Regions from separate parts of the Homo sapiens genome. Here all the other regions are linked to region 4. The links are contacts of gene promoters, found by promoter capture Hi-C in human tissues and cell types (Jung and others, 2019). All regions are on one chromosome and are shown on one strand. Each heading gives the region's core, a stretch centred on a gene start or on the middle of the fragment in contact. The rest is flanking DNA. Distances are from core to core; before and after follow the strand shown.

Region 1 (2,900 bases), core at 117-2,616, 580 kb after region 4:
CTTGAGCTGAATGTCTTCCACTGGCCCTTCCAGATCCGCATCTGTGCTTTTTCCATCCCTGCCCTGGTGCTGGAATGCTAACCTGTAGAGACTGACTAGGTCCTCTTGCTCTCCAGCTTCTAGATGGATTCAACCATTGGGAGGCATCAGCAGAAGTCAGAGAAGAGGGTAAAATGCAGTCCGGCTATTTAGTCTGTTGGCTGTTTCCCTGCCAAGTCACCATGGGTGATTTAACTGTATCTACTGAAGACCACAGTGCCTGTCTTGCAGCCTTCTCCATACAATTACCTTTTCTGGATGCCAGTAACCACCTCTTCCTCTTGCCCTTGCAGGCTTAGAGACGTATCAGCTGCCTTCTGTTATTACCCCAGCGGTATTCACCATGCCATGTGGGTTTCCTTAAATCCTGTCACCCTTTTCTCATAACAACAGTTATGTCATTAATAGCTCCATTTTAAAGAGAGGACACTAAGTCTTAAAGAGATTAAGAGACACTTCGAGGCCAGGTGTGGTGGCTCATGCCTGTAATCCTAGCACTTTGGGAGGCTGAGGCAGGAGGATCACTGGAGCCCAGGAGTTCAAGACCAGCCTGAGCAACATGGCAAGACCCCATCTCTACAGAAAAGTAAAAAATTTAGCTTGGCGTGGTGGCACATGCCTGTAGTCCCAGCTACTCAGAAGGCTGAGGCAGGAGAACCACTTGTGCCCAGGAAGTCAAGGCTGCAATGAGCCCTTTTCATGCCACTGCATTCCAGCCTTGGCAACAGAGCAAGATCCTGTCACTAAAAAAAAAAAAAAAAGAGAGAGAGAGACGTGTCCAAGGTCACCGAGTCAGTAGGAGCAGATCCTCCAACCTAGATCTGTCTAACTCTACTGCTAATGCTTCCCTTCTGTGATATTTAAGGTGAGAGTGTGGCTGGTGCCCCAAGGCTGAGATGTAACTCGGAGAAAAACTAACTGGAGCAATGTTTACTGGGAGCCAAGAGCAGAATTCTCATTTCAGACCTCCGCTTCCACAGATGGGCACTTAGAGTTTGGCTCTGAGGGGTGGTGGTGGTTCACAGAGAGTTCAAACCCCATCACAGACACATGTGGGTGAATAAAGTGTCAGGGTCTTTGCTTTTTCCAAGTGCCTGATACAGGCTTGCAGATGCGTGGGGGTGTGAACAAGAGAGCCTCAAGTGGATTTCACTCTTGGATGTAGCCTATAAATATGTATGTTGGGCACCATGAATCATTTAGGGCTGGATTGGTTGCAGTTTTTCATTTTTTAAGGGATGGTTTCATGACTCAGAGATACTGGCATGCACCCCCAAGGTCAGAGTGGATCCGAACACTTTACAGAAATTGGAAGGAAACAAAATATTTGCTGCCTAGCTTTATTCTGAGAACTTTTTCTAAGTTTAAAAACATACAAGGGAGCAGAGAACGGGTCACAAATGAGCTTCATTCAGGGTTGTGGTGTTTTGATATATATATTTTACTGGATTTTGACCACAATCCATGGCTCATAGCTTCCATAGCCTTTTTCCAGTCTTTTATTAGAATGTCAGGTGTGCCAGGCCTCAGGAAACAGAAGCTCGCTGACTTTCCCCAGCCCTCCTCTCCCTCTAATCCTTCCCCGGTCTTTCTGATTGTGGGTCTTAAGACCACCCATCCCCAGAGAGAGTCCTGCTTTATATCCTGGCGAAAGGAATGTTGAGGTCATGAATCTTCCCTAAAAACACAAGAGAACTGGGTCCAGAGATCTTCTGGATAACTGAACATGTAGAGGTTTCTGAAGGGTGGTCCCCAGGGAGAGCATGGAAGCTCTGTGTCCCTTCTCCCATACCTCACCCTACACATCTCTTCATTTGGATCCTTTGCAATATCTTTTACAATAAACTGATAAATGCATTTCCCTGAGTTCTGTGAGATGCTCCAGTAAATTAGTTAGATTCAAGGAGGGATTCTTGGGAACCCCAGTTTGAAGCCAGTCAGAAATTTCAGAGGCCTGGGCTCACGACTGGTGTCTGGGGTAGGGGTGAGGGGGCAGTCTTGGTAACTGAGCCGTCAATCAGTGGCATCTGATGCTATCTCCAGGCAGATAGTGTAAGAATCAAATTAGAGGACACCCAGCTGGTATTCCCTGCTTGGCGTGTGGAGGAAAAAAACCCATATATTTGGTCACAGAAGCCTTCCATGTTGATGATTGTTGTTGTGGTAGTGTGAGACTAGAGGAGAAACATAGTTTGAGAGTTTTTCCGAAACAAGTGTGATAAAAGCTTTGGAAATTGTATAGCTTTTATAATTTTTTTCACCCCTTGTACAATTGTAACTTCACCTCTCCGAGCCTCGGTTCCCACATCAGCACAATGGGCATAAGAGCTCAATGAGATGTGTGCCTCTACAGCACCAGTACAGGACATGGACTTCACATGCATAACTGGTGGTCTTCCTCCTCTTCCTCTCAAGTAGCTCCAACTCACAGCCAAATCTGAGTGCCTAGCATGCTTCCAGCCAGCCCTCAGAAATTAGCAGTTGTTAATTGGTGAATGTTGCCTCTCTGGCTGTATAGTAAGTGTATTAGTCCGTTCTCACATTGCTGTAAAAAACTACCTGAGACTGGGTAATTTATAAAGAAAAGAGATTTAATTGGCTCACAGTGTGGCAGGTTGTACAGGAAGCATGGTTGGGGAGGCCTCAGAAAACTTACAATCATGGTGGAAGGTGAAGAGGAAGGAGACAGCTCTTACATGGCTGGATGAGCAGGAAGCGTGGGGAAGAGTTGCTATACACTTTTAAACAACCAGATCTCCGGAGAACTCACCTGCTATCACAAGAACAGCAGCAAGGGGGACGTCCACTCCCATGATCCAATCACCTCCCACCAGGTTTCTCCTCCAACACTGGGGCCTATA
Region 2 (2,892 bases), core at 378-2,877, 600 kb after region 4:
ACAAGAGCTGATGGTTTTACAAGAGGCTCTTCCCCCTTTGCTGCTCACTTTTCTCTCTCTTGCCGCCATGTGAGACGGTCCAAGCTTGCTTTCCCTTCACCTTCCGCCATGATTTTAAGTTTCCTGAAGCCTTCCCAGGCATATGGAACTGTAAGTCAATTTAACCTCTTTCCTTTATAAATTACCCAGTCTCAGGTATGTCTTCATAGCAGTGTGAGAAAGGACTAAAACAGTGCTGCTCTCGAGGAATGTACACAGCCCCATGGGGAATATAGAAGAACCAGCGTAAAGTTTCTGCAGTATTAATGGAAGGAAATAGCAGTTAATCTGGGTCTTGTAGGATGATGGGCCAGGTGAATGGTAGGATTTTCCAGGCACAGCAATGGAAGTGAGAGAAAGAGAAATAGAGAGAGAAGGAAAAAGACAGAGTGGAGTGTGGGGGGAGGCAGAGGGAGAGGGAGAGAAGGAGGGGCAGGGGGTTGGGGGAGAGAGAGACCAGAGACAAAAAGACAGGGATTATGTAACTACTGGTGTCTTAAATAATTGTAAACCATGTAGGAGGATGTACCAGTTAGTTATTCTTTGGCCATAAATCATAGAAACTGACTCTAACTAACTAAGGGAGAAAGGAAGCTTATTGGATTAATATAGGGCAGCTCTAAGAAGCACCAAGACATATGAACTAGAACTCCCAATGTGCAGTTTCAGGAAGCTTTAGGTAACTAAATTCCTCTGGAAGTTGCAGGAGGATGGATCACCTGTTTTCAATCCAATGTTTTACCCAAGAATAAATTCCAGAGAGGGAGCACTATAGGAGCCTAATGTCAGTCACGCAGCCACCCCTTGGCTGGAGGACGGGTGCACTTTCATTGACAGTAGAGAGTGCTCAACAAGGACAGGATAACCTTCCCAATGCCAAACCCCATACTCTTAACCTAGAACTGTAGTTTTCAACCAAGGGTGCATTTGCCTCCCAGGAAACATTTGGGAATTTCTGCAGACATTTTTGCTTGTCACAAATTGAGGGTAGGGGGAAGTGCAACTGGCATCTAGTGGGAAGAGGAAAGGAGACTGCAAACATTCTACAATACTCAGGACACCCCCTACGACAAAGAATTACTTAGTCCTGAGGTTGAAAAACTCTGATCTAGAGGTGAACATATGTGTGAAAACAGAAACTACAAAAGTCATTTAGGAAAGAGAGAAAAAGGGAGGATGGAGCCATGAAAGGAGTATAAGAAAGATAAACTTTATGCCAAGGGCAGTGGGAGGGTCTTTGAAAGGCATTTAAGCCAGAAAGAGGTGTGATATATTCATGGCAAGCATGAGCATGTCAGTACATATGACAGCACCCTCTTCACCAATTTTACAGCAATATTCTCCATTTGTAATTACATACTTTTAACATTTTTGTTTGTCTTTTCATGGCCGGCCACACATCAGTAATCTTCATTAGGGACAGAACCACATCTGCTTTATTTACTATTGTATGCTTGTGCCTAGAATGGTGCCCGGCACATAAAAGAGGCTCAATAAATATTTGCTGAAAGAGGGCGGGCACGGTGGCTCAAGCCTATAATCCCAGCACTTTGGGAGGCGAGGAGGGTGGATCACCTGAGGTCAGGAGTTGGAGACCAGCCTGACCAATGTGGTGAAACCCCGTCTCTACTAAAAATACAAAAATTAGCTGGGCATGGTGGCACATGCTTGTAATCCCAGCTATTCTGGAGGCTGAGGCAGGAGAATCACTTGAACCCAGGAGGTGGAGGTTGCAGTGAGCCGAGATCGCACCATTGCACTGCAGCCTGGGCAACAAAGCGAAACTCCGTATCAAAAAAAAAAAAATTGCTGAAAGAATGAACAAATAAATGAACAGATGGATGAATGGAAGGATGGAAGGATGGATATATAGATAAATGAATGGGTGGATGAAATAAAGGAATATATTTTAAAATACTTTGTATATCAGAGAGTATAATATTTTTAGGTCATATTTGTAAAGATTGCCTACATAGCTGTCAGATTCCCACCTACAAAATAAACCAAAGCAAGCATTTGGAGAAAAAGAAAGGAATCAAGATGATTCACACCCATGATATCTGCATTTTACAAGTTCTGGCTGAGTACATATCATGCAGGATCCCACACTAACATCTGTCTAATGTGCAAAGGGAGGAAAATGTCCACGTGCCAGACGTAGCCTTCACCTAGGAAGGCAGAGATACAGCACTAGAATAACTTTAAGGCAACCTATTAACAGAGGCTGGAATGCATGGCATACCAATCATTTATTTATTCAACAAATATATTTATTGTATACCTACCATGCGTCTGGGCACAGTACTAGATACAAAATATCCATTGTTTAAAAAGGCAGACCTGGTCTTTACCATTGCGGTATTTAAAATGCATTAGGAAAGACAGGCCGGGCGCGGTGGCTCACACCTGTAATCCCAACACTTTGGGAGGCCGAGGCAGATGGATCATTTGAGGTCAAAAGCTCGAGACCAGCCTGGCCAACATGGTGAAACCCCATCTCTACTAAAAATACAAAACAATTAGCCAGGCGTGGTGGCATGCACCTGTAATCCCAGCTACTCGGGAGGCTGAGACACAAGAATTGCTTGAACCCAGAAGGCAGAGGTTGTAGTGAGCTAAGATCACGCCACCACACTCCAGCCTGGGTGACAGAGTGAGACCTGTCTCGAAAAAAATAAGTAAATAAAAAATAAAATAAAATAAATCTACTGGGAAAGACAGATAATGAGTCAACAGAGAAATATGCAATTGCAAATTATAACAGTGGTAGTAATAAAACAATCAGAATATAGTGATAAATTAAAAAACACAGTTTGGTGGCTGACTTAACAGGGACGACATGGCAGTTCTCAA
Region 3 (3,272 bases), core at 113-2,612, 690 kb after region 4:
GAGGTGAGATCCCAGCCCAGGGAAGCCTGATCCCAAAGACGATGTCATTTATGTATATTGCATAATGATGAGGTTTGGGCTTCCATTGAACCCTTTACCAAAATAGTTTACATTGTACCCAGTAGGTAATTTTTCAACCCTCACCAACTCCTACTCTCCCACTTTTGGAGCCCCCAGGGTCTATTATTTCTGTCTTTGTGTCCACGGGTGTCCCTTGTTTAGCTTCCACTTATAAGAGAGAACATGCAGTATTTGATGTGCTATTTGTGAGTTATTTCACTAAGGACATTGCAGGCAGAGGAAAGAGCATACACACCTGCCTCTCCTGCCTCCACCAATGTCCATGTGGTTTCTCTGAAGCCCAGATCTGACCATGTCACCCTTAGTAGCTTTCTGGGATTCTCTGCCACTCAGTTAATGAGGTCCATTTCTTTATCCTAGCAAGTTTCCAAATTGAGCTTTAATCTAGGTCCCCATCTTATTCCCAATTCCCTGACTCTCTCCCCAATGTACCTGCCACTCCAACACTTCTAACCTTACCCTATTTCAAACATACTACTCTCTGTCATATTTATGCACCTTTTGTTAATTTTCTATTTTATTTTTTATTTTAGATTATTTTATTTTGTTCTTATATTTTATTTTAATTTTATATTATTTTATTTTTATTTTAGATTGATGGGTGTACAAGTGCAGGTTTGTTACGTGGGTATACTGCATAATGGTGAGGTTTGGATTTCTATTGAAACCATCACACAAATAGTACACATTGTGCCCAGTAGGTAATTTTTCAACCCTTGCCAACTCCCACCCTCCCCACTTTTGGAGTCCTCAGTGTCTGTTATTTTCATCTTTGTATCCATGTGTACTCATTATTTAGCTTCCCCTTATAAGTCAGAACATGTAGTATTTGATTTGCTGTTTCTGAGTTATTTTACTTAGGATAAAGGACATGCCAAGCAGAGGAAAGCACATATGCAAAAGGTGCATAACCTTCGCCCACTTTTATGGGCTGGGAATGTCCCTCCCTTCTTTCCTCTCTGGGGAATACTAAGTCATCATCCAAAGCCCCAAAGGCACATCCCCTGTAAGGCCTTATTTGACTGTCCAAGAAGAAGCTCATCCCTCTTTCTCTGGCTCCCATAGCACTTTTCCCAAATACTTCCAGGGCACCTCAATTTTGCACCATACTTACATTCAGGTTTTTTGTTTTGTTCTGTTTTGTTTTTGAGACAGAGTCTTGCTCTAGCCATGTAATTAAGCTTGTACTGTTCAACAATAAACATGGTATTTCATATTACTCAAGGTTGTTCATTGTAAATTAAATGTTCATTGGAAACTAAAATATCATTTTGCGTGTGACAAATTGAGCTCTCTTTCTTGCATTGATGGCCTGTGAGTTGGATCTAGCCTGAGTATATTTTATTTGGCCCACATACTGTTTTACAAATTATGTTTCAGAGTTTCAAAACTCTAAACAAAAATCTAAAAATCATGAATATTTACATTTTTAAAAGCACATTTTAAAATCATATATTTTTTTTAATTCTGAAAAAGTAGATCTAGCAATGCAGAGTATCCATTCCTGAGAAACTGCTGAGTATTTTCCAGTTTTGCCTAGCCATACTTATTTATTCTGTTTCCTTCCTGGCCCCTCCAGGTATTTTAGTTTGCAACTCCTTGTTTAGTTTAACAAGTCAATCACAAAGGAATCAACCATGAAATTGAAGATGTAGTCACCCAAGAGCATATTTTAATTTAAATTTAACATTAGCCAATGCTTCAGGCTAATGATGAACTAGCTGTTCCAACAAAACACACACACATAAACACACACACACACACACACACATACCATGGCTTCAGAATGAGTTCTATTAATTCAACCAAACAAATACGTACTGAGTACCTACTATGTGTCAGAAACAATGTCAGGTGTTTTGATGACAACATCAACTTAATCCTTGCTCTCAAAAAGCCCAGGGACAAGTAGAGCAAATATACAACTGAATAGAAAATTGCAATGCAATGAAATAATCCATAGGTTAATGAGTGTATTACAGAAATTTTGATATGAAGTTTGTTCCCCCAGTTTTTAAAATGTGCAGAATCAATCTAGGAAGCAAAGGTGCATGGAATAAAAGCTTACAACTGCCTTTCTCTTTGGGTTTGAAGAAGTCTTTACAGATCTGGAGGAGATCTGTAAGTGACTCACTTAAGGTCAATGGTTGACATTATGTGCAGACCTAGAACTCAAGAACTGGGCAGGTGTCTTGTCTTTTGTTTGTTTGTTTTTGGCAGGACAGATACTAATTCCCTCCTACTGACTTGAAAAGTGGATTGCCCCTTTGCTGAAAAATTTAGAAAACATTATTAGGACATAGTTAGCTTCAGGCCACTCCTTTATAATATCTCTTGATTTATCTGAGATCATTATGATGGCAAAACGTGGACTGAAAGATATTTGTCTTGTGGGCCTTCATCTAGAACATCTGCCTGAGTAATGATAATTTGTGTTCTTGGGGGTCAGCCTGGAAGTGAGTCTTTAGTGTGATGCCACAGGATCATTATATCAATTAAGGGCTTGGTGGAGGCTCTAGTGGTCATGCTGATCCAATCTGTATTTGACAAAATTCGGAATGGAACAGCTAATATTCAAAATGAAGGAATCTAATTCAGAAAGATCTCACTAGACTGAAACATTGGGCACAAGCCAAAAGATGAGCATTAACCAGGATAAATATTACCTTTTTAAAAATCAATTGCTCAAGTAGAGAATGGAGAAGATCTGGCTTGGCTGTGGTTCCCATGAGAAAGACCTGGGATGTGTTGGAGGCTTGTGCGAGCCAAAAGCAATACAATGCCATAAAAAGACACCAATAGAGAAAACTCTTTCAGTTAATAAATGAGAGAAATCCAAATCAAATTGATTAAAGTAATATGGAGAACTTATTGGATCATATACCTAAAAAGACCAGTAGTGAACTCTAAATATTAGTCATGTTTTAATATGTATCAACCAACCTCCAAATCTCAGTGGCTCTCAAGAACAAACATTTGGGTCCATGGGGCACCTTGGCTTGGCTGGACCAAGCTGGACTCAGGACTTCTGGTTGCTTCTGAGTGCTCCCTGGGTCTTCAGTCTGGCTCCCATCCAGAGAGACAGTGGCAACTTGGGTAGGGTCATTTCATGGCTAATCACAGGAGATAAAAGGGCAAATGGAAATGTAAATGCTTTAGGTTCTCTGCTTGGAACTAGCAAACCTCACTAC
Region 4 (3,329 bases), core at 483-2,982:
TTTAGAAAAAGCAAGCTTAGTGAGTATGTTGCAGGCACTGAATAAATGTCAGCTCTCATTAGCTCTCACACACCAGTGCTTGTGTTTGTAGGACTCACAAGGTGGTGGTGGGCGTGGGTTGCCAGTCATGACAGACTTTCCATACTCTCCTATTTTGGGGATTCTATTATAATGAATCTGGTGAATCTGGATTAAACGTGTTCATACCTTCCCCAGATGGGTTTGGAATATAATACTCCTGGGTATGCCCTGTCAATGTCTTGCTGTGTGTTTGCAAATCTTTTTTGAAACATCAAAATGTGACTTTTTTTTTCAAAGAGAAGGGGCGATTAGCCAAACTTCTCATTTGGAGAAAACTTGCAACAGAGTCCCAATAAATCCTCCCACCCTTTCTCAATTCAGGGGACCCTAGTAAACCATTTTACATGTCGCCCAACTTTTCGTTCTCTGAAGATGCCCTGAGAAGCCCTTGACTGCAGCCAAGTGGAGAGGAGGGTTGTGGAAACATTATCTCCTTGCAAATCGCCTAGCAGCCTGCAAAGTGTATACTTAGTTAATGCAATTAAAAAACAAAACGCCGGGGCGTGGGGAGATCTAAATTTGGTGTAGCAGCTTTGGTGCAAATCCTGTTTTGGGGCTACTGGAGTCAAATTCAAGCAGAGGAGAGAAAGAGGTGGGAGAAATGAGAGAGGGCCTCCGGGGAGCTGGAATTCGCTAGGAGAGAGAGGGCAGATTTGGAAACACAGAGGAGACGGGAGGCTGGAAGCTGAGGAAGCAAGGCAGAGCTCTGCAGCCCCCGGTGAGGATTTCCGGGGGGATCCGTGGGGACAGGGGCCAGCCAGCTCCAGAGACCGATGCGCGGGCTCCAGGTCCGGGAGGGTGGCTGAGGCTGGGTGCCCAGGCCTTGCGCTGCGCCAGATCCGGGAGCGCAGAGGCGGCGCCGCGGTGTTCCCTCCTGTGGAGCGCAGAAAACGCTGCGGGGGCGAAGAGGGACAGAAAGCGGCAGGTTCGAGAGGCTGGGGGACTTCCAAGGAAAGACCTTCCAGGACACGCCATAGCCTCGGCCTTGTTCGGCTGTCCCCTCTTACCCCCGACCTTCTTTGATTCGTTCATCCCGAGCCCCTCTCCCCCGGAGGGTGCTTATCCCTGGCTCAGGGGCTTGCCACCTGTCCTTCCCAGCTCCGCCTGGGTCCTTGCTTGGGCCCAGAGAGTTGAGCCATGCGGGTTGCGCTCAGGGCTGGAGGGCGCAGCCGGGAAGGGCAAGGAGGCCCCGCACGCCTGGGAGGGGCGATCCTGACCAGACTGCACCCAGTCTGTCTTGGAGTGAAAGCCATTTAGTCTGTCCCCATCCTCTCCGAGTCATCCTTCCCCTGATGCACAGATTTCGGCCGCCGCTCCTGCACACGCACCGGTGAAAAAGCTACGAGCTGAGCCGCCTCTGCGCTCTGGACAGGGCTGAGCCGCGCCTCCTACCCAGAGAGGGCGCGGGAGGTCCTGCCGCGGTTTTCCACCTGCCTGGAAATCCGAGCGGCTCCTCTAGCCTCGGCTGCTGCCGAGCTCGCTCCTCCCCGTCCGCTCGCCTGGCTCAGCTCTGCACGCCCCCCAGCTAGCTCCCGCTCTAGTCACCTCTTCCCCGCGCCCCCGCCCCTCTAGAGCTCGCGCCCGCCCCCCCCCACCCGCGCCTCCTCTGCCCGCCCTCCTCCCCCTCCCCCTTCCCTCCTGCCCTCCCTTCATTCCACAAGTGTCGCTTCGCTCTCTTCAGCGCACTTGGCGAGCTGGTGAGGTGAGAGGGATACTGCGAGAGGGCTAGGGGCGGCCAGTCCGGGGCTGCCGGCCAAGGCTAGGCGCTGCCAGCCCGATTCTCCTCTGCTCTCCACCCCCGCCTCACCCAGTGGCCGGCCGGACCTGCACCCCGCGCTTGACCCCGCTCATCCTCCCCCCGCCCGGCCGGGCGCGCTCCTCCCCGGCCGGCCCCTCGGCGCGCGGCGCGCTGGAGGCGAACGCGGGCTGAGGCGAACGCGGGCTGAGCCGAGCGCAGTGGCCGCCGACCACCGAGCGCCCCGCGCCGCTCCCTGCATGTGCGGCCCGCGGCGGCTCGCAGCTCCCGGCAGCAGCCTCGGCAGCTTCGGCCGCGCCTCGAGAGGCGGCCGCAGAGGCTCCAGCGGCGGCCGAGCGGCCGAGCCCGGGCTGGGAGACACCATGCGCCGCGTCCTTCGGCTGCTCCTCGGTTGCTTCCTCACCGAGCTGTGCGCCCGCGTGTGCCGGGCGCAGGAGCGAGCGGGACACGGGCAGCTGGCGCAACTGGGCGGCGTGTTGCTGCTGGCGGGGGGCAACCGCTCCGGGGCCGCCTCCGGAGAGGCCAGCGAGGGCGCTGAGGCATCGGACGCGCCCCCGACCCGGGCGCCCACGCCGGACTTCTGCCGGGGCTACTTCGATGTCATGGGCCAGTGGGACCCGCCGTTCAACTGCAGCTCGGGCGACTTCATCTTCTGCTGCGGGACTTGTGGCTTCCGGTTCTGCTGCACGTTTAAGAAGCGGCGACTGAACCAAAGCACCTGCACCAACTACGACACGCCGCTCTGGCTCAACACCGGCAAGCCCCCCGCCCGCAAGGACGACCCCTTGCACGACCCCACCAAGGACAAGACCAACCTGATCGTCTACATCATCTGCGGGGTGGTGGCCGTCATGGTGCTCGTGGGCATCTTCACCAAGCTGGGGCTGGAGAAAGCGCACCGGCCCCAAAGGGAGCACATGTCCAGGTGGGCTGCCTCCCCTTCGCCCTCCCCTCGGGGCTTCGCTCTCCCTGCTCTCTCCTCCCCACCTTCCCCCAGGCAATGGCGCTCCCCACGGTCCCCGCTCCCCGCATCCCAGCCTCTCCGCTGGGGGATGTCACCGGGAAGCCAACTTCGGCTTGGAACACGGAGAAGGGGCGCTGGGCTCAGCACAGGTGTGGGTCTGAGCGTGTTCGTGTGTGTGTGAGCGTGTGTGTGTGTGTGTGTGACTCTGCTCCCTCACCCTCTGGCCGCCTCCTCCCGCTGGTGACTGAGGCGGACTTGAGACACGTAGCCTGGGAGCCCGTGGCCCCGAAATCTTCGGGTTTGGGGAGAGGGTCCATGGCACCCCTCGGATTCCAGGTGCTAGCTTTTTGGTAAACAGGGGCAGGCGAGCCCGAAAGGGGAGGGGGGCGTGTGTGAGCCCGAGCGCGCGTGTGTGAAGGAGGGAGGGTCAGAGTGAGTGCCGCCTGCAACTCGTACGACTCGCGAAAAGGAGACGAGGGAGGTGGAGTGAGGGGAGGGCGAGAACAAAAGCCTTGCTTGGAGCGGCCG
Region 5 (3,131 bases), core at 303-2,802, 520 kb after region 4:
TGTTATAGTTCATGATGTACAGAAAAACCTTTAGGCTGAACTTAAATATGTAAGGAGGCAGCTTTAGGCTAAACTTGATTTAACACTGGATGAAGAAAATGTGGTACATATACACCGTGGAATACTATGCAGCTATAAAAAAGAATATCGTGTGCTTTGCAGAAACATGGATGGAGCTGGAGGCCATGATCCTTAGCAAACTAACACAGGGACAAAAAACCAAATACCACATGTTCTCACTTTTAAGTGGGAGCTAAATGATGAGAACACATGGACACATGGAGGGGAACAGCACACACTGGGCCTTATTGGAGGGAGGAAGGTGGGAGGAGGGAGAAGATCAGGAAAAATAAGTAATAGGGGTATTAGACTTAATACCTGGGTGATGAAATAATCTGTACAACAAACTCCCATTACATAAGTTTACCTATATAACCAACCTGCACACATACTCCTGAACTTAAAGGTTAAATACGAATAAAATAAAACCTAAATCACATGACAAAAAGGAATGAAATGATGTGGAGCTCTGTTTATGAGCCTAAGATTGTGCTAATATCTAGAAAACAGAATGGATTATCCAGAAAGATTTGGATAGCTATGGATATGATTATTTTACTGAATTATTTCACTAATATACAAATCTAAAGATTTGATTTAATTGAAAATCCAGTAACCTAACCTTCTTTCGTTAAAAAAAAAAAAGTCACTTTGATTTGCTTACAAGAGTAAATATTGTATGAAACGAAAAAAAGAGTACATACTGGAAGATTATATTTATATGAAATTCAAAAACAGGTAAAAACTAATCTTTGGTGTTAGATGTCAGAATAGCAGTTACCCTTGGGAAGTAGTGACTAGAACAGGAGATAAGTGAGGTGCTTTCGTGGCATTGGTGATGCTCTTTTACTTGTTCTGGGCCAGGATATATGACTGTGATTGGTTTGTGAAAATTCACCAAGCTATACTCATAACCTATGCACCGTTCTGTAGGTATATTCTACATGAAAAAAAACCTCAAAAAGTAAAAAATAAAATTCACACAAAGTTAAGAAACAAGCTAGCTGAAGGCTTATAGAAAGAGTTATAAATGATAACAGTAGTAGGTGACATTTACCATTGGCTTACTTAGAACCTGGTAAGTTTATGCAGTAATTAATTTAATTCCTTCAACATCACAAAGTATACACAATTGTTACCCCATTCTTAGAAGGGAAACAAGGCTCAAAATCTTAATTATCTTACCCCTGACCATATAACACATAAGCACTAGAGTACATATTCAAACAGGAGCAGCCCACCTCCAGTTTAACCATCATATGTCATTTTAACCATCATATGACACCAGTTCTCCAACACTGGGAGGATGTGAGACACCCAAGGGTACTTAGATTCACAAGTTTATTCCTGTGGAAACCACTTAGAAACCCAAGAAATTGGTTAGCCAGGCACAATGGGGCCCACCTGTAGTCCTAGCTACTTGAGAAGCTAAGGCAGGAGGATTGCTTGAATCCAGGAGTTCGAGGCTGCACTGAGCGATGGTAACACCACTGCACTCCAGCCTGGGTGACCTTGTCTCTGAAAAAGAAGAAAGAGAAAGAAAGGAAGAAAGAAAGAAAGAAAGGAAGGAAGGAAGGAAGGAAGGAAGGAAGGGAAGGAAGGAAGGAAGGGAAGGAAGGAAGGAAGGAAGGGAAGGAATGAAGGAAGGAAGAGAAAGAAAGAAAGAGAGGGAAGAAGGGAGGGAGGGAAATGAAGGAAGAAGGAAGAGCAAGAAAGAAAGAAAGGCAGAGAAAGAAAAAGGAAGAAATAATAAAACCTAAGAAATTTGAATAAATTTCTTAAAATTACCTCTGGAAGAAAACAAAATGTTTAAATAAAAACTCAGTGTTCACTGAGATGGAGAAAGTCTGTTTATAACAATTTAAGGAGCCACACAGAAAATCACAAGGGCTATAACTTCCTGCTTGCCGAAGGCACCTTTTGGATGAATTGCTGCTTATATCACTGCATGGCAACTGGAGAAGACGTGGATTGATGCAGTCGTTCTCAGGAAGTTAGAGGACTATTAACATCAGCACGGGATTCATGATGATGTGTTGAAGGGTGGTTGGCACCCGCAAAAGGAAAGGTGATATGTTTCATATTTTATGATATGTTTTGTCACTCGAGGGAATTTAGAAGTGGAGGCACTTGATAGTGAAAATGGAAGCCAACTTTCTCTTTTTGTCACTTGCGTTATTTGGGATGTTTTGAGTTGGAAAAAAAAAAATAAGCAGAGACTGAATCTGTCCACTAAAGGAGAAGGGAGAACTGGGTTGGAGCCAAGAAATGGGCAGAGTGAGAAGCAAGGCTGGGAACCAGATATTTGCTCAGTTTATTTGCTTCCTCTCTCTTGTTAGCTATTGAGTTTTCATTACAGTGTACTCACTTCTTTCTTCAAGTCTTCACTGTCAGTGTCTTGCAAACTGCTGAACACCACTGGATCCCTCATTCCTAAAGCAGAAGTGGCTTGACTGAATGTCATCGTAGTGGGAATCACACACATTGGGCAGACCCCACCATTGGAGGCTACCTCAGCAGATATCGTCTGCAAAGACAGCCTGTGCCTGGATGATGAGATCTATCCCTGCTCAAGGAACAGCTCACTGTAGCTTCCCTAAGTGGAGACAATGGGCAGGTTAATGCCAACGGGCAGAGAAGAAGGGCATGGTGGTGACCCTATCAACATGCTCGAATGCTGGCATCAAACAGAGGATGCTTGAAGCTTTGGTGTGGTGAAGCTGGTGGAACTTTTTGAAATCTCTTGGGAAGGTTTATGCCAATGATACCCTACCTAAACCCCATCTCACATTTTCTTGGTTGAAACCATGAGCCTATTTTCTTCTTCCCTCCTTTTCTTCTTTAAATCCTTCCTTTATTACTTCCTTTGCTCCTTCATTCAACAGACACCTGTCATGTTTTGGAGGGGAGGCCTAGCCTGAAAGAAGCTAGATTATGTTTATCTCTGAGAATATGACTTGTGTAGGCATCTCAGGTTTGTCAGTACAGTGGTTGACCTACATGTATTTATTAGCAGGATCTTTGAAGAAAAAAAAAAAGAGGTGCTCCAATTGTTTATTGCTAAGTATCAA
Region 6 (3,221 bases), core at 316-2,815, 640 kb after region 4:
ATGCTCGCCTCTGAGTAGCATCGACCCTTCCTTCCCAAAGGCATCCATGGCGTCTACACCCCTGAAAATGCTCCCTGACAGTCACCTAGAAAGCCCTCCAGATTAAAGATGAAACATTATTCAAATATCTACCTCTTTTTCTGGGTAACTCTTGCTCAGAGAATTGCAGGGCTAGGCTTAAAATGTTCTGGCTCCTTGTGCAGCTGAACAAATAGAAACCCAGAAGGGGAAGTCACGTGCCTAAAATTTTACAGGGAGGAAGTAGCAACCCCATGGACATGAAAGTGTTAAGTGTAAAGGGTATGACATTTAGAGGGAGGCAGTCTCCATTGCAAATTCTGGCTTAACACTTAACACCTCTTTGAGTATCTGCTAAGTACTTACTACCTGACTAAGAATATTATCTTATTTAACTCAATCAATAGCATGAGGCAGTATTAAATATACATAATACTATATATCTTATCTATATATCTAGATATATTATATATAATATATGTATCTTTATCTATATATCTTATAGATAAGGAAACCTTAGCCTCAGAAGGGTAAAGTACCAGTTAATTCATGGTACAACCAGAATTTGAACCCCATTCTGACAGACTCCAAAGCTCTTGCTCTTAGTTTTTCGGTTTTTTGTTTTTTCGGGTTTTTTTTTTTCTTGTTTTTTTTTTTTTTTTTTCCCCGCTGGATGTTGTATTTCCACTTTGCACGGACATGACTCTTGAAGTTTTCAGGGAGATTGCACAGCTGAGAAGCCAGAAGCAACCTTGGCTGATAAATTACTATCCTGGCTGGGATTTCCCTCACCAATTGCTAAGCAAAAGGAACACATAAATTTTGGAGCAACCACCTTTTTAGGTGTGAGTTTGGAGCCTTGTAGAATAGAAGACTGGGCCAGGTGCAGTGTCTCACACCTGTAATCCCAGCACTTTGGGAGGCCGAGGTGGGCAGATCACTTGAGGTCAGGAGCTCGAGACCAGCCTGGCCAACATGGTGAAACCCTGTCTTTACTAAAAATACAAAAATTCGCTGGGCGTGGTGGGGCGAGCCTGTAATCCCAGCTACTCAGGAGGCTGAGGCAGGAGAATCACTTAAATGCAGGAGGTGGAGGTTGCAGTGTCCTGAGATCATGCCACTGCACTGCAGCCTGGGTGACAGAGTGAGACTCCGTCAAAAAAAAACAATAGAAGACTGATAGTGTCAACAGTTTAGCATTGATCTGGTGACATCATGATCATCATCCTTATTTTCCTCATCATCACAATAACATCAGAACCACTATTTGTTAAAGGCCTAGCAAATATCAAATCTTATGCCATGTGCCTTGCATGTACTTTCCAACTTCATCCTCACAATAATGCTGTAATACAGATGACACCTACCCAGTTTTTACCATTGAGAAAAGAAAGATCCAAAGAAGCCGAATAATTTGTCCAAGATCGCACACTGGTGAAGTGGTACAGCTAGAATTCTATTCAAGGTCTTTTTGAATCCACAGCACTGCCAGTTTCACCAAATGGTCTGATTGTTAAGAACCAGGATAAGTTTCCCTTTAAACAAGATCAAAAAAAGCAGACGGAAATGCCAGCATCCAATTAAATAAGAATCCTGCATGGATGATCAAGGAGAGATGAGTGGAGGGACACATATGTCTTTGAGCCAGTGAGCTAAAACAAGTGGGGGCTTCCTACAAGGGAGTCTATGGATTTGGCTGTTGCCCCTGGCAACAGACACAGGCAATTGGTTGAATAGCCCCTCCACCCCTGAGCATGGGAAAGGCTGGTCTTGGAAGCAGCCATTGTTTCAAACATTGCTTCTGCTTGAGGTCTTGCTGCTTGTGAAATAGTTCCCTCTCTCTTCCTGAACATTCCACCTGTTGCGTCCCCTGGCAGGAGCCAGCAGCTTAGCAAAGATGAATCTTCTCTCACGCCATGGCCTGTCACATGGACATCTGGAGTTCTGACCTGCTCAGGATCCTCTCCCTCTTCTTTTGTATCAGAACTCTCCATGATGGCACCACACCGGTCCCGATCCGCTTCTACTATCACACGGTGTAAAGTCTGGCCAATCAGAGCAGCTCATTCAATGGGCCACAATGATTGGTTCAGGGAGAAACATGTGACATAAGCTGGGCCAGTTAGATTCCTTCCTGGGACTTTTAATTTGGATTTGAGAGAGGGATGATTTCTTGCCAAACTGGTAGGACGTAAATTTGGGGCTGCCAGTGACCATCTTGCCTGTCGTGTGGATGGCACCTGAATTAACAATGTAGGAAGGGGGCCCAGAGAACACTAGGCTCACTAATTCAGCCCTCTTGCCTAGAGCCAGACTTGTCTTTGGAGATGTCTTTGTCCTATAAGAAAGGAAATCAGTAATCAGAAAAAGGAGTTAGAAATGTGCAACCCTGTCCAACTTTCTACAAAATTCCTCAGTGCTACAACTTTAGTCCAAGCAACCACCATCTCTTACCCAGAAAAGAAGATTATTGTTCTCCCTGCTTCTTCCCACCCTTCCATTTCATTTTCCTCAGCCTACAGAGTGACAATTTTTAAAAATGCAAATCAGTTTTGCATGTTAGTATCATCTTATTTCATACTGAAGAATTCCCATTAGCATTTCTTGGAAGGCAAGTGTAAGGGTGATGAATTCCCTCAGCTTGTGTTTGTCTGGGAAAGAATTTATCTCTCATATTTGAAGAAGAAAAGCTTTGCTGAGTGCAGTATTCTCATCAGTAGTAAGTCATTACCTATCAATAGTAACATTAAATGTATACAGACTAAATTCTCCAATTGAAAGACGTAAAGTAGCTAAATGGATAACAACGTGAATCAGATTATAAGATTTCCTGATGCCCTGAAGATTAGTAAAAGTCCTTTCTACTGCCTATGAAGCCCTACATCAGAGGTCTGCAAACTGACCTGTGGGCCAAATCCAGCCCAATTCCTGTTTTTGTAAAGACAGTTTTATTGGCACAAAACCATATTCACCCATTTTTACATGTTCATGGCTGCTTTCTCTGTCAATAGAAGATTTGAGTAGTTGAAAAAGAAACCATACGGTCTGTTAAGCCTAAAATATTTGCTATCAGGCCGTTTACTGGAAGAATTTGCTGACCCCTGTGGTATATCATCTGGCTCCTGTGTCTGGCTCATCCATGCAACTCTCCAATTTCCTGCTGTGCTACAGCCACACTGCCCTCCATAAAGCTCATCCTCACC

What was found. Contacts are between HindIII fragments. The study calls those that stand out against the background at their distance.
Region 1: a contact is called between a fragment that was not itself captured here and the fragment with the promoter of SHISA9 in region 4, in 3 of the 25 tissues and cell types used here (hippocampus, lymphoblastoid cells and mesendoderm cells).
Region 2: a contact is called between a fragment that was not itself captured here and the fragment with the promoter of SHISA9 in region 4, in 4 of the 25 tissues and cell types used here (H1 embryonic stem cells, dorsolateral prefrontal cortex, lymphoblastoid cells and 1 more).
Region 3: a fragment that was not itself captured here is called in contact with the fragment with the promoter of SHISA9 in region 4 in 2 of the 25 tissues and cell types used here (lymphoblastoid cells and mesendoderm cells).
Region 5: a contact is called between a fragment that was not itself captured here and the fragment with the promoter of SHISA9 in region 4, in 2 of the 25 tissues and cell types used here (lymphoblastoid cells and mesendoderm cells).
Region 6: a contact is called between a fragment that was not itself captured here and the fragment with the promoter of SHISA9 in region 4, in 4 of the 25 tissues and cell types used here (dorsolateral prefrontal cortex, lymphoblastoid cells, mesendoderm cells and 1 more).

Annotation. Positions count from the first base shown.
Region 1 is chr16:13,482,018-13,484,917 of GRCh38, forward strand. It overlaps a transcript of SHISA9 not described here. Among named protein-coding and RNA genes, the nearest start is that of ERCC4, 440 kb to the right of the region's middle. The HindIII fragment of the contact is 4,909 bases long and covers 1-2,900 here.
Region 2 is chr16:13,500,170-13,503,061 of GRCh38, forward strand. It overlaps a transcript of SHISA9 not described here. Among named protein-coding and RNA genes, the nearest start is that of ERCC4, 420 kb to the right of the region's middle. The HindIII fragment of the contact is 5,047 bases long and covers 1-2,892 here.
Region 3 is chr16:13,585,638-13,588,909 of GRCh38, forward strand. No RefSeq gene overlaps it. Among named protein-coding and RNA genes, the nearest start is that of ERCC4, 330 kb to the right of the region's middle. The HindIII fragment of the contact is 4,832 bases long and covers 1-3,272 here.
Region 4 is chr16:12,899,866-12,903,194 of GRCh38, forward strand. SHISA9 (shisa family member 9) reads left to right here and starts at 1,733. Exons shown (of 5, transcript NM_001145204.3): 1 at 1,733-2,762. The coding sequence starts at 2,200. The HindIII fragment of the contact is 6,671 bases long and covers 1-3,329 here.
Region 5 is chr16:13,415,123-13,418,253 of GRCh38, forward strand. It overlaps a transcript of SHISA9 not described here. Among named protein-coding and RNA genes, the nearest start is that of ERCC4, 500 kb to the right of the region's middle. The HindIII fragment of the contact is 3,656 bases long and covers 1-3,131 here.
Region 6 is chr16:13,543,766-13,546,986 of GRCh38, forward strand. It overlaps a transcript of SHISA9 not described here. Among named protein-coding and RNA genes, the nearest start is that of ERCC4, 370 kb to the right of the region's middle. The HindIII fragment of the contact is 6,455 bases long and covers 1-3,221 here.